2 separate regions of the Homo sapiens genome follow, and region 1 is linked to region 2. The links are contacts of gene promoters, found by promoter capture Hi-C in blood cells and fetal thymus (Javierre and others, 2016). All regions are on one chromosome and are shown on one strand. Each heading gives the region's core, a stretch centred on a gene start or on the middle of the fragment in contact. The rest is flanking DNA. Distances are from core to core; before and after follow the strand shown. Region 1 has its middle 160 kb from the start of C1orf21-DT. Region 2 holds the start of APOBEC4 (apolipoprotein B mRNA editing enzyme catalytic polypeptide like 4).

Region 1 (6,181 bases), core at 2,107-4,606, 570 kb after region 2:
TTTCTCATACTTAGCAATAACAACCAAAAACAAACCCAAGGAAATAAAATCACCAGGGAGGCTTTCCTCTTTAATTAAGGAGTTCTAATGAGTCACAGTCTCACCATGCATGGGACTCAATTATCCTTTATAAATAGGGGATTGTGAATGTGGGATGTGTTTTCTTTTGCAGCCCTGCTGCTATTTCTCCTTTGTTTCCTTCTCCTGGTGCTGCTGCTTCTCTCTGTACACGTGTATGCACATATGTGAAATTGATGACATAAAGAAGATCCAAATCTCTTCGCCTAGTCAACTTGAAGTTGTAAGATTCCTTGAGTGTCATTGAGAAATGTAATAGGGAGTGGGTGGCTTGGCTGGTAGCTTAAATGGTGCCAATGATTGTAAAGTCATAGGTACCATCCCCCAAAAGCCAGAATGATTTCCTCTGTTCTGCTGACACAGAGAGCATCACAAATCTTGGCAAATATATCATTGGTTACATGGTTGATCAGACAAGGCAGGGAGGAGTGAATCGTGTCAAATGGACCACCACCACTGAAACTCAAACCTGCCCCCACGCTGGTGATTTTTGTGGATTCCTTTAAGAGGAATGGTGAGTGTCTTCTAAGAGTAAGAAGGGTTAGCAGTGTTCCAGCTTACCTACAAAATGTGAAACTGAGAAAGCCCACTGGGGCGACTTCCATCTTTATTGCTAAAGAGTAAGAAATAGAGACTTGGTCATTCTCACTGTCATTTTTGTGATTTTTCTGAACCTGAAGGTATATAATGAGGAAAAATGAGACAAATTCAAGCAAAGAGAAATTTGGGCAGAATCTCTGGAGGGAAAAATAATCATGGTGAAATCCATTAGACTACGTAATAGTCATCCCCAAGGGGGATGACGTAAGCCTCATAGTTGCAGTCATTTAAATGTAGACTGAACCATGCATTTGTGAGCAGACCCCAGGGAACAATCCTGCATTGCACAGGGGATAGGGAAAGCGATAGGCCAGATGACCTAATAGATCTTCTGTAACTTAATTTCTAGGGTTGTGGGATCCTAATTAAAATGAACTATATTGCCTGTTATGAACCCTCCATGTTAATATTCTGTAAGGTCTCCAGGCAAGTCAAGGGGGTCTTGGCTTTTTCTTATTTCTTTTGAGCCAGAACCCACAGGCTGCCTTAAGCACCTAGCTGCTGTCCATCACTTCTTATAGCTGACAAAGCTTGACTTAAAAAAAAGTTTTTAAAGAAAATTACAGCACATATTATGAACTAACATTTTATACAAATTAATTGAGTGAAATGAGAGAAGTATGCTTCATTCTTTGACCTGTGATAATAAATATTCTTCCGGTCAATAACACGACGGTGAGTCAGCCCTGCGATGGAGGCAGTTGTCGCCATATAACACACAGGACTCCAATCTGCTTCCTCACATCTAGTGCTGACTTTTCCTTTTAGCTTTAATGATGTTTGAAAGGGAATATTGACGCTGGAAAAATCTTAGAGAGGCTCCACCAATCACAGACGAGCGCAATTCTCCACTAATGTGGGCCTCTTTTCCTTGACTTCCTCTAGACATGGAACTCCACTGAGGATTCTCAGGCAGGGCCACTGGCGAGCTGGCCAGAGCTGCTCTGAGAACCACCAGTGAAGGGCAGAGGGCACTTTAGCCCCAAAAGTAGTAGCAGTTTAGGGCAGGTGGAAGAGACGGGTGGTTCAATTGCCCCATGTGGCGTTTCAGGTGGGCCACATGGGTCAATTGAGTCTTATCAACTTGTGTCTTATCTAGCAATTGAATGCCATTGCTAGATAAGAGTGGTGACCTCCAGCTGGTAAGTTATTTTATCAGCCTTGTCCCATCCCAAGGATCCCCAAAAAGGCCACAGAACTCTGCCAGCAGGAAGTAGACACCGGTGTGCATCAGAGAATATCAAACTCTACCTATTTTAAATTTATAAACTGGATTCTAATTAGCCTGCAGGGAGTTTCCATGGAAATTGGAGATATCACTTTGCAACAGTATAAGATCACAGCATCAAGTAGACGGGAAAAGTGGAAAATCTCTATTCTTTTAGGAATCAGCTGGAGTCACCTCGCTATGAAATTGTCCCTGACCCAGGCAGATTCCAGGTGTTCCCACTTCCATTACAGTATTTGTAGTATGTAATTGTCAGTGTACATATCTACATCCCGCAGACGGGGGAGACACTGTCATTGTTTCTGTTTTTCTCCAGAATATGGCTCAGTTCCTGATACAGAAGACACTTAAAAACAACAACAACAACAACAAAACTTGTTCGATTATTACAGTGATGTCTTAGAACATTGGTTTCTTCATCTATAAAATGGCATAATAATACTAATTCAGTTGGCTGTTCTGAGGATTAAATGCCAGAACAAATAAGTACTTACAACAATGCCCAGCTCCTAAATAATGTGTAGTTCCTATCCCCGCTTATCTTGTGTGAGAGGATTATTTTTGGTTTTGATAGGTATCAGGCAAAAAGGGTTTTTTAAAACAGCAAATAAATCAGAATATTCCACACTTGTAGTCTGCATTTTGTGTTGCCATTTGATTGGGTTTCTAGACTAGGCCAGCATTTTATATTCTGTAAGCATGGTAGAGGTTATATTATCTCCAGCCCCAAATCTTGGACATTAAACCTTTTCCTCATTGCTCACTCGGCTAGATATACATTATTAATAAATGAGATTTCTGAGATGTTTAGACTTGATTCTAAACATTCATGAAATAAACTTGGAGAATGAGTAACTATCATCAGTGATGATAAAAATGAGCTTGGGAAGATACCCTGTGTGTTGATTCTGATGAGAATTTTACCTTTATTGGACACCAGAATATTTCCAGGTATTCCCTGAAAACTCCCCTAGAGATGTCTTAACTCTTCTTTGATGGTTAATATTAAGTGTCAACTTGATTGGATTGAAGGATGCAAAGTATTGTTCCTGGGTGTGTCTGTGAGGGTGTTGCCAAAGGAGATTAACGTTTGAGTCGGTGGACTAGGAGAGACAGACCCACCCTCAATGTGGGTGGGCACCATCTAATCAGCTGCCAGCATGGCTAGAATGAAGCAGACTTGCTGAGTTTTCCGCCCATCTTCTTTCTCCCGTGCTGGATGCTTCCTGCTCTCAAACATCAAACTCAAGTTCTTCAGCTTTTGGACTCTTGGACTTACACCAGTGGTTTGCCAGGGACTCTCAGGCCTTCGGCCACAGACTGAAGGCTGCACTGTCAGCTTCCCTACCTTTGAGGTTTTGGGACTCAAATTGGCTTCTTTGCTCCTCAGCTTGCAGATGGCCTATTGTGGGACTTTACCTTGTGATCATGTAAGTCAATTCTCCTTAATAAACTTTCCTTTATATATACATCTATCCTATTAGTTCTGTCCCTCTAGAGAACCCTAATACACTTTATTTTTACAAAACAAGAAGTGCTTATAGAATGACTTTTCAAGGAGGTTTATGCGATCAAAACACACTACAGTGTGATGCTGGGTTTGCAGGGCGACCATGGAACTGTTGGGCAGAAACTCACATATAGAATAGCCTGCTACCAACCAAAGCCAGGTTTCATCTTTCCCACCAGCAGAATCCACCTCTTCCAAATCCACCCACATCATTGCATGGCCTGCAGGTAGGCTTTTCAGCTTCCTCTGATTGTCATACCAGGCACTGGGCCTATAAAAAGCAAAGCGGAGGCTGAGAGGAGGCAGAGGCAAACACTGAAGGTGTTTCAGAGGCCTATTCCCCCTGTGTATGGTGAGCACAGCACCTGGCAATGGATCGGGCTCTCCCACCCAAGCCCCATGCCCACTCTGGCCCCTTACCCCTCAGCCTTGGTGCCCTGGGTTCCCTAGTTCTTCTGTGGCCTCGACTCCCAACTGTGTGAAACCTGCATTGTCTTGGAGTCAGTGAGCTACTGCCTTCTCTATTTCCTGCTTTTAATTCCAGTTGACTCTTGACTTACAATCATGTATTCTTACTGGAATTGCCTCCCTGAAGGGCAGAAATTCCCTTTCTCCTGCTCTTTTGCCCCATCTGCCCTCTGCTGGCCATCGATAGGTACTGCGGTCAACCCTGAAAAGCCGTTTTTCCCAGTAGCATGTACCGAAGCTGTTTGCTCTTTCCTAATTCAGACGCTTTCTTTTTCTTCTTTTTAAAATTTTGGTTGCATTGCCTCAGAGTTTTTCAAAGCAACACGGAAACACCCTTTCTCTTTCCATGTCCCCAGTGACCATGTCATGGATCTGCCGTAAAGCATCTCTTACAGTAGTGGTCTCCAACCTTTTTGGCACCAGGGACCGGTTTCATGGAAGGCAATTTTTCCATGGACCAGCGGGGTGTGGGGATGGTTTCGGGATGATTCAAGCCCATTACATTTATCGTGTGCTTTATTTCTGTTGTTATCACATTGTAATATGTAATGAAATAATTATATAACTCACTGTAATGTAGAATCAGTGGGAGCCCCTGGCTTGTTTTCCTGCAACTAGAAGGTCCCATCTAGGGGTGGTAGGAGACAGTGACAGATTTCCAGGCATTAGATTCTCATAAAGAGCCTGCCATTAATCTACAGCATCAGTGTTACGCTGTAGAATGGTTCAGAATCTTAGCCACCGAGATCCCTCGCATGCGCAGTTCACAGTGTGGTTCATGCTCCTATGAGAGCCTAATGCTGCCGCTGATCTGACAGGAGGCGGAGCTCAGGTGGTGATGCTGGCTGGCCCACACTCACCTCCTGCTGTGCAGCCCGGTTCCTAACAGATACCAGTCCGTGGCCCTGGGGGTTAGGGACCCCCGTCTTACAGCATCCAGCGGGGCCAGGCACTTGGTTAAGTAGATCCTTGATGACTGAAACGTGACAATGCTGAAATGGCTGTGGAGTACTGTTTGGAGTTTGTGGGGGTGGGGTTTGTAAACTGGAGAACTTTATGTTAGAGTTTCTTATTATTGACATTTGAGGCTAAATAATTCTTTGTTGTCTGAGTCTCTCCTCCACGGTGTAGTATGTTTCGCAGCACCTCTGGCCTCTACCCTCCACGTGCCAGTAGCACCTTCCCCAAGTTTGTTGTCCTCACAGACAACCAAAAATGTCTTCTCTACTCACTCCCAAATGTCCTGGGGGGGCAAAATCACTCACTGCGGAGAACCATGGCATTAGGGTGATGGAGTAGAAAGCCTGCTCTACTCAGAAGGACTTCTAAGTGCCAGAAGGTGCAGGTCTGCTCTCTGGGGCCACTCAGTGCTTTGAAGGACACCTGATTTATTTTGGAGATGGACACTTAACTGCTGAATACACTGGCATGGGTGGGTGGTCCCATCGAGAGTTTTTCTCAAAGGTTTTCAATGACTCCTCTTGTGTTCTCTGGCCTATCCTACTCCAGCTCTCAATTCTGCTAGGCTTGAGTTCCAGCGTCAGAGCCTTTCTGAGCCTCTCTTCTCAGTCTTAGCCTCCCCTCCTTCCCTCTCTCTCCACCCACCTTCTGGCCGTCTGGGAAGCTTCAGCTTCATCCTGCTTCCCCAGCACTGCTCCTCCATCCACCTTTTTTTCTTCCATAGATTCGTTAAAAACATCTTGTCTGAAGGCAGTTCTCCCCTTTCTACATCACCATGGGTTTTTTTTGCAGAATTTTCTTCCATTACAATCACTGATTGTAATCAATTCTCTTTCCCCCAGGTCTCTGCCTCCTCTCTGTCAGGAAGGAGAGAGAGAAGTTAACCACACAGAACTGACCACCCTCTTTACCCAGAAGGAGCTGATCAGCCATCTTTAGGCAGAAGGCTTCCTCCAGCTGCACCCAGATTCCCCTTCTGTCTCCCACAGCACCCTGGGCTTACTTCTCCAGATCATGTAACACCCTGTGCTAAGATTGTTTATCTCTTGTCTGACTTCTTGAGTGGATCATAAGCTCTTTGAATGCAGGCATTGTGTCTTCTCACTCGCAACATCTCCAGTGTTGAGGACAGAAGTGCCCACAGTGCATAGGATATACTCAATAAAGGATTATCAAATGTCATGGAAATAAGGCCTTAATTTAAATTCAGTGGGAAGAGATTTTCTTGAACTTTAAGAAGACTTGGGGACAAAATTTGAACTTCTTGTATGTGTTTCTCCTCAAAGAGCATAGCTCTGCCTTAATTCTTCTGAATCTGACATCGAGCCTCTGGAGTT
Region 2 (6,037 bases), core at 1,079-3,578:
TTATTGGTTTGCAAGACATTTTTATGCATCAAGAATATTAAATCTGCCACATTTGCTGCTAATATTTTACCTGGTTTATACAGCCTTTTAATTATGCCAATGTTATTTTAATTGCACCAAATTTTACATTTTTATGTGGTCCAGTCTCTACTCCTGTGATTTTTTTTCTTATTGTATTTAGAAATGCCTTCCTCATCAAAGCATAATTAAGTATTCCCCATATTTTCTTCTAGTATTTATGGTTTCATTTTTTACATTTAACTTTGTCAGATAACAAAACTGATAAGGCAGAAAATTTAAATGAGGTAAACTGACCATTGCAACAGAATATATTTTTCACTTTTCAAAATCTCACTTATCATATCACAAGTATGAATACTTGTGCTAATAAATAAATTATGGCCTCTCATATGGAAGTGCTATGTTCACCTTCTGTCTTCCTCAGCCCACATCAGCTCATTCATTGCTGTATTTGATACAGCTTGATCTCTAGCCTGAAACCTGCAGAGTTCCTATGCTAATCCTATCCTGGGCAGAAAATATGTTAAAAGCCTCAATCCAGCTGTAGGTGGAATGTAGCTTTATTCATGTCACCATTATCTTAGTGGCTAATATCCTGCAGTAACTCTGGCACCACATACCCACCAGATTCTAGATTTCTCCTAGCCTCTGCTGTGTCATCTTAATCCATAGGATTGGACATTAGCTTTGTTTTTTCCTTAGTACTATATTTTCCTGATGTAACTGAATTCCTGCCTTGAGGCTTCCTAGACCTTGTCATAGCTTTCCTTCTAGAGAGCTGGATTTAACCCTTGGCAGTGGACGATCTCTTGGAACCTGACGCCATTTCCTGCTTACTCCCGAGCATTGTTTCCTCTCTGGACCTCCTCCTTGCTTAGCCTTCATCAGGCTGGATGGATCTCTCCATCAGAACTTGCCAAAACCAAGCCCAAACTTTCATGCTTTTTAATATTGTGCCCTTGATGTGGTCGACTTATGGGTGGTACACCGGACATCCAGGTTACTGCTCAGATTACAATTTCAACTCACCCATAGACAATTTACAGATTGATTTGGCTAAATGTTATGGAAACAGAACCAAAAGGCACTTTTCTGTCTTTATTACTATTTCTTAAGGTGATGTGTATGTGGAGTTAACTATATATAATGGTCCCATAATTACCCTTTTGGGAAACAAAAGTCTTTGTGTGTTTTTAGATAAAGGTAGCAAAATGGAAACTCCCTATTGCTTTTCTAAGCACGCCTTCCTTTGCACCCCCATCTTCTGTGGCTGTTTTAGCCAGAAATGATACATCATTACTGTCTTTAAGGAGATGGAGAGGACTGTGGCTTTAACACATAGTGGAGGGAGCTCTGTAGTCTCATTCTTGCTGACAACTTTTCAGTGTCAACCAACTATAGTTTCCTATTGGTGAAGTTTTCACTTTTTCAGAGTCTTTCTGGGCTTGTTCTTTGATCACCCTCATCTGAAGAGGAAGCAGGAAAGAACTGTTGCCCTCTTTGAACTCTTAGAGAATTCATGGTTTATTGTATCAATTTGTTATCGACCACAGATTATCTTGTTAACTTTTGGTATCTGTCATTTTATTCTCCCCAACCAGGTGGAAATGTACCCTGTTTAGGCCCAGGACCTACCTTAGCAACCTTGATTGGCTCACAAGCCAGGTTGCTTAAGACTTGTTTCCCCAGCAGCTGGTGTCCCTACTTCCTGCCTAGCCCTTTTCCTTTTGCTTTGTCTGTGCTTGGGAAATACATGTTATACTCTGTAGAGCAGATTTGCTGGCAGTAAGAACAGAGATGTGTAGAGCCCAGCGTGCTGGAGGGCTCTCTGCATCTGGCTGTGAGTGGCCCCTGGACTGGGACCGTGGGAGGACAGCTTTCCATAGTTTAACATAAATGAACCACACCATAAGGACAATCTGCTCTCATTTCACTCAACTAGGATTTAGTGAGTACTGTTAAAGCACAGTTTGCACTGGAGTAATTGGAGAATGGAGTTTGCCCTTCACAATCTGTGCACAATCTGTTAGCAGCTAAAAACAAATGTTAGCAGTTATAATTACCATCAATTTGTCTCCAGGCTTGGATCACATTCCAGGTGTTAGAAGAGATGGTCCATTTCCTTTTTTTTCTCCTTTAAGTCCCATGCCCTGTTTCAAGTAGCTTCAGAAGGCAATTGTGCTGTAAAGATTCACCTTGTAATGGGTTCAGGACTCTTTCACAGTTTGTGTCTATTCGTTCATTTGAACTTTGCTGTTCCAAGTTAGAAAGCCCTTGCTGAGGTGTGGCTACCTCTAAGAACACTGTTGATTGGGTGCCATGGTAACGTTTGCAAAGTAGCTACTGCTAGGATACAGCTCTGACACTTATTACTTTATTTGCATATCAAGCCACCTGTTCCAAAGATGAAAATATACAGGACTGCATATCCCAGTCTGGGTAAAAGGATAATAGCTGACTGTTGAAGAGAACATGTTGCAGTTTTTCTCCTGCTAGCTGAAGAATCAAGTTCTGAGGGCCTGCTCCTCAGCACCTTTCTCCTGGTCTAGAGTAGGTGCCAGGCCTGGCGGTTCTGTTGCCTGCGTGGGTGCCAGGGCTTCTCCTTGGGAGGCTTGCCCTCTGTGAGAGGGAGCAGAGAGTTGACTTCCTCCAAGAGGCCCATAGTCCCTGAAGGGGGTGTTTTTGATTCTGTCTAAACCTAGGCTATGTGTTAGCGGTTTCCCTCCTCTTAGAAATTGCCTGGAAGACTCTTGCTATTGGTATGTATGTGGTTCCCTCCAGTTTAAGACAAGATTTGTTCCAGGATCGGTTGTAGCCCCTTCTCTGTGGCTAACGGAAGAGCCACTTGTCCTTCTCCATTCTTTTCCTTAGTCTCCCTTGACCCCCACATCATCTCCTAGACACAAGGCACATTGATAGTCACAATTCACTGTCAATCACTCTGGATTATTCCCTCATTCCCCTTTCCCAGGCCACCTGAAGGAGTGAGTGGGGATTGCTATTGTGTACATTCCAGTAATAACTATTGGCTGTAAGCAGACATACTCTAAAAATAACTCAGGGATACTGAGCACCCAGAGGGCACCTTCTGTCTTCTCGAAGCTTCGCCACGCCTGTTTCCACTGTCAGACTTCCAGTCTGCACCACAGCACACATCCTTTCTCATCCAGAGTGCTCCTACTAGACGAGATGTTTTTGTCTCCTAAGGGCCTCAGGTGTATTCATGAACTCCTCAGCTGGTTATTTTCAGTTTCATCTTCCTTGGTGCTTGCTCTGGCACATGGTCACTGCTGCATCCTGTCCCTTCCCCACAGTTTGCCATGGGTCATCCCTTTTTTCTCATTGCTTGCATCTTCTAACTGAATGAACTTGTAAATATGGAACTGAAAGTCAATCCTCATAGCTCATCTTTTATTTAATCCTAATAAATGACAATCTATTGCAAACATTACTTTAAAAATATTACTTATCAAAAGCTGGGTGAAAGGATAATAGCTGACTGTTGAAGAGAACATGTTGGGGTTTTTCTCCCGCTAGCTGAAGAATCAAGTTCTGAGGGCCTGCTCAGTTCTGTAAGAAAGTATTAGCTGTCTGACAGGTTCCAGTGAGGGGAGGAAAAGACAAAAAATATAGTCCCCAAATCTGCACCAGCATCCCATGTGCACTGTGCACCTTCCATGGTGGATTAGATGCTCAGCAAATGATATACCTATGGAAGGTTAAGCCTAAAGAAACAGGAAAAATGAGCCTTTGTCCACTAGCACATTTATCAATTGCATTTTAGGGTGATTTTAGGGATAGGCAACCCCAATTAGTCATTATTCTTTAAAGGTAGTTGTCTGTTAGATGTAGGAAGACTCCAAGGAATGTTAAGTTGGCAACATTCCATTTAGGTTGCACAGAATGACTTTTAAGACTAAACTTCATCAGGAGGAAATGAAAGGCCTTTACCATGGTTCCTGTTCACAGTGAAATTGACATGTATTGGAAAGGAGATGCTTGGAAGAAATGTCTAGCTTCCCCAACAGACTCCTTTCTTCTCTTTTCTGTCTTCCTTTGTTAATCTGCCATGTTTCATCTTCATTCAGATGAGTTATGATGTATATTATTTATGTAGAGATATTATGAGATTATAATGAAGAAGATTTACAAAGACTAAACTATCCTGCAATGATCTAAATTTTTAAGAGACATTTACTCAGTTTGGCACTCCAAAAATTATTAATCTATGTTCTGACAACCCAGTTTGGGGTATATCCAAGATGGCTTGTGTGTTGCTAGTTACTGCTTATAAGGCAACTTTCTCTTTGGGTGGCAGGAAGTAAAATATTTATAAGTTATTGCTAAAATGTTAAAGTTTTATTTGAACCTACTGTACCCAAGTAATTATATAATTCATCACTTTAGTAGCAGTTTGGTTGACACTGAACAACAATGCTCAAATTCATGTAGCAGTAACAAACTACGTGATAAAAGGAACTGAATTTAGAAAGCAAGCTTCAAGTAAAGATCAGAAGATTAAGTAGATTTCATGGAGCTCACTAAGGAGTTAGATGGGAAAGATGAGATAAGAAAAGCACTGGAGTTGAGACCAAAAGGAGACGAAAAAGCAGAGGGTGGATCTTCGAGCTCGGGGGGTTATAAACAAGATGGCCACAAGGTGGCAGCACAGTCTTAACAGCAGAGAGCTTTCTGTAGGGCCACCCTTAATTTGCTAACACCACAGACTTTCTCTTAGAATTCCTCCATGTTGATTTTCCTCATTATCCTAGGGGAAACAGCAGCAAATGTTTAGAATTAAAAATGACTCCTAAAACTTAAGCTGAGGAAAAGTATAGGGTAAAGGCAGCATCTTTACTTCCAGAGACTGTTTAGATGCTCTAAAGAAGGCTTCCAACTCTCTGTGGGAAAGGACCAATTGACATTTCCAAACCATATGTTAAACAGTGATGGGAGGCCATTGTTTTGGGCTAAGCTTGTACACTAGGCCCCAGCCGACCAGACCAAACCAAAATGGAGTCACTCATGCTAAATGTGACATAAACTAAAATTTTAAGGAAACAGATAGATCCCAAAGCAGACCAAGTTTTTTTTCTTTTCTTTTCTTTTTTTTTTCTCATGAAAACAGGAGATTCCGGCACAAGGAAGTCCCCTTGGCTCTCTAACTCTTACAAAAAAGTAACCTGAAATCCATGTTCCCACCTTAAAAACCAACTGTTCTGCTCTTTCCCCGTGGGATCTGAGACCAAATAAGTACATTTATGATGGTAACAGAGTGACCTCAATGCCTAAAGTTTTGGTCAGTGTCAAAATTGAGAGGTTGACCAAAAGGTGGGGAATTGTTAAATTAAGTTTAGCCTAAAGCTGCCTCCTTACATATTTTAAGTTCAGCCTAAAGGTTTCTTCGTACTCAGCGAATTGTAACCTAACTGGAATGTAAATAGACTGTAACCTACTCTTGTACCAATCACCAAGTTTTGGCCAAAGGCAGCCAACTGTTCAAACTGTGTTCAAATCAGGGAAATGCCAAGCTGTAACAAATCCAGCTGTTTCTGTACCTCACTTCCATTTTCCTTATGTTGCTTTCCTTTTTTGTCCACAAATCCTCTGTGACCATGCAGCAGCACTGGAGATGCTTTGAACCTATTCTGGTTTGGGGAGCTGCCCAATTTGCCAGTCGTTCCTTGCTCAGTTAAACTCTGTTAAATTTAATTTGTCTAATGTTTTAACACATCATACACTAATACTTTTGTAAAAGTTAATAAAAATGATATTATACAAAGAAGAACAAAAAAGACATACAGAACATAAACCTATTTTTTGGTAATTAGTTAAACTAATTGTGAAAATAGCACATCAAACTTTCTTTTTAAGGTTTTTGAAAACCAGAAAATCTAATTATTATGCTCTAGCCAAACTACCCAATGTTTGCTTTACATTCTTTCCCCACAAAATGAAATTAGTGAACTTAGGCAGACTCAACTAAGTTCACAAAATCGACTCAAAAAAAAAAAAA

The links. Contacts are between HindIII fragments. The CHiCAGO score rates a contact against its expected background, and 5 or more counts as called.
Region 1: a contact is called between a fragment that was not itself captured here and the fragment with the promoter of APOBEC4 in region 2, in 5 of 17 cell types (total CD4 T cells, naive CD8 T cells, non-activated CD4 T cells and 2 more). The highest score is 8.6, in total CD4 T cells.

The regions. Positions count from the first base shown.
Region 1 is chr1:184,218,702-184,224,882 of GRCh38, forward strand. No RefSeq gene overlaps it. Among named protein-coding and RNA genes, the nearest start is that of C1orf21-DT, 160 kb to the right of the region's middle. RefSeq lists an enhancer at 4,732-5,265. The HindIII fragment of the contact is 4,300 bases long and covers 1,207-5,506 here.
Region 2 is chr1:183,650,988-183,657,024 of GRCh38, forward strand. It overlaps APOBEC4 (apolipoprotein B mRNA editing enzyme catalytic polypeptide like 4), which reads right to left and starts at 2,329. Exons shown (of 2, transcript NM_203454.3): 1 at 2,085-2,329. It also overlaps a transcript of RGL1 not described here. The HindIII fragment of the contact is 5,397 bases long and covers 1-3,121 here.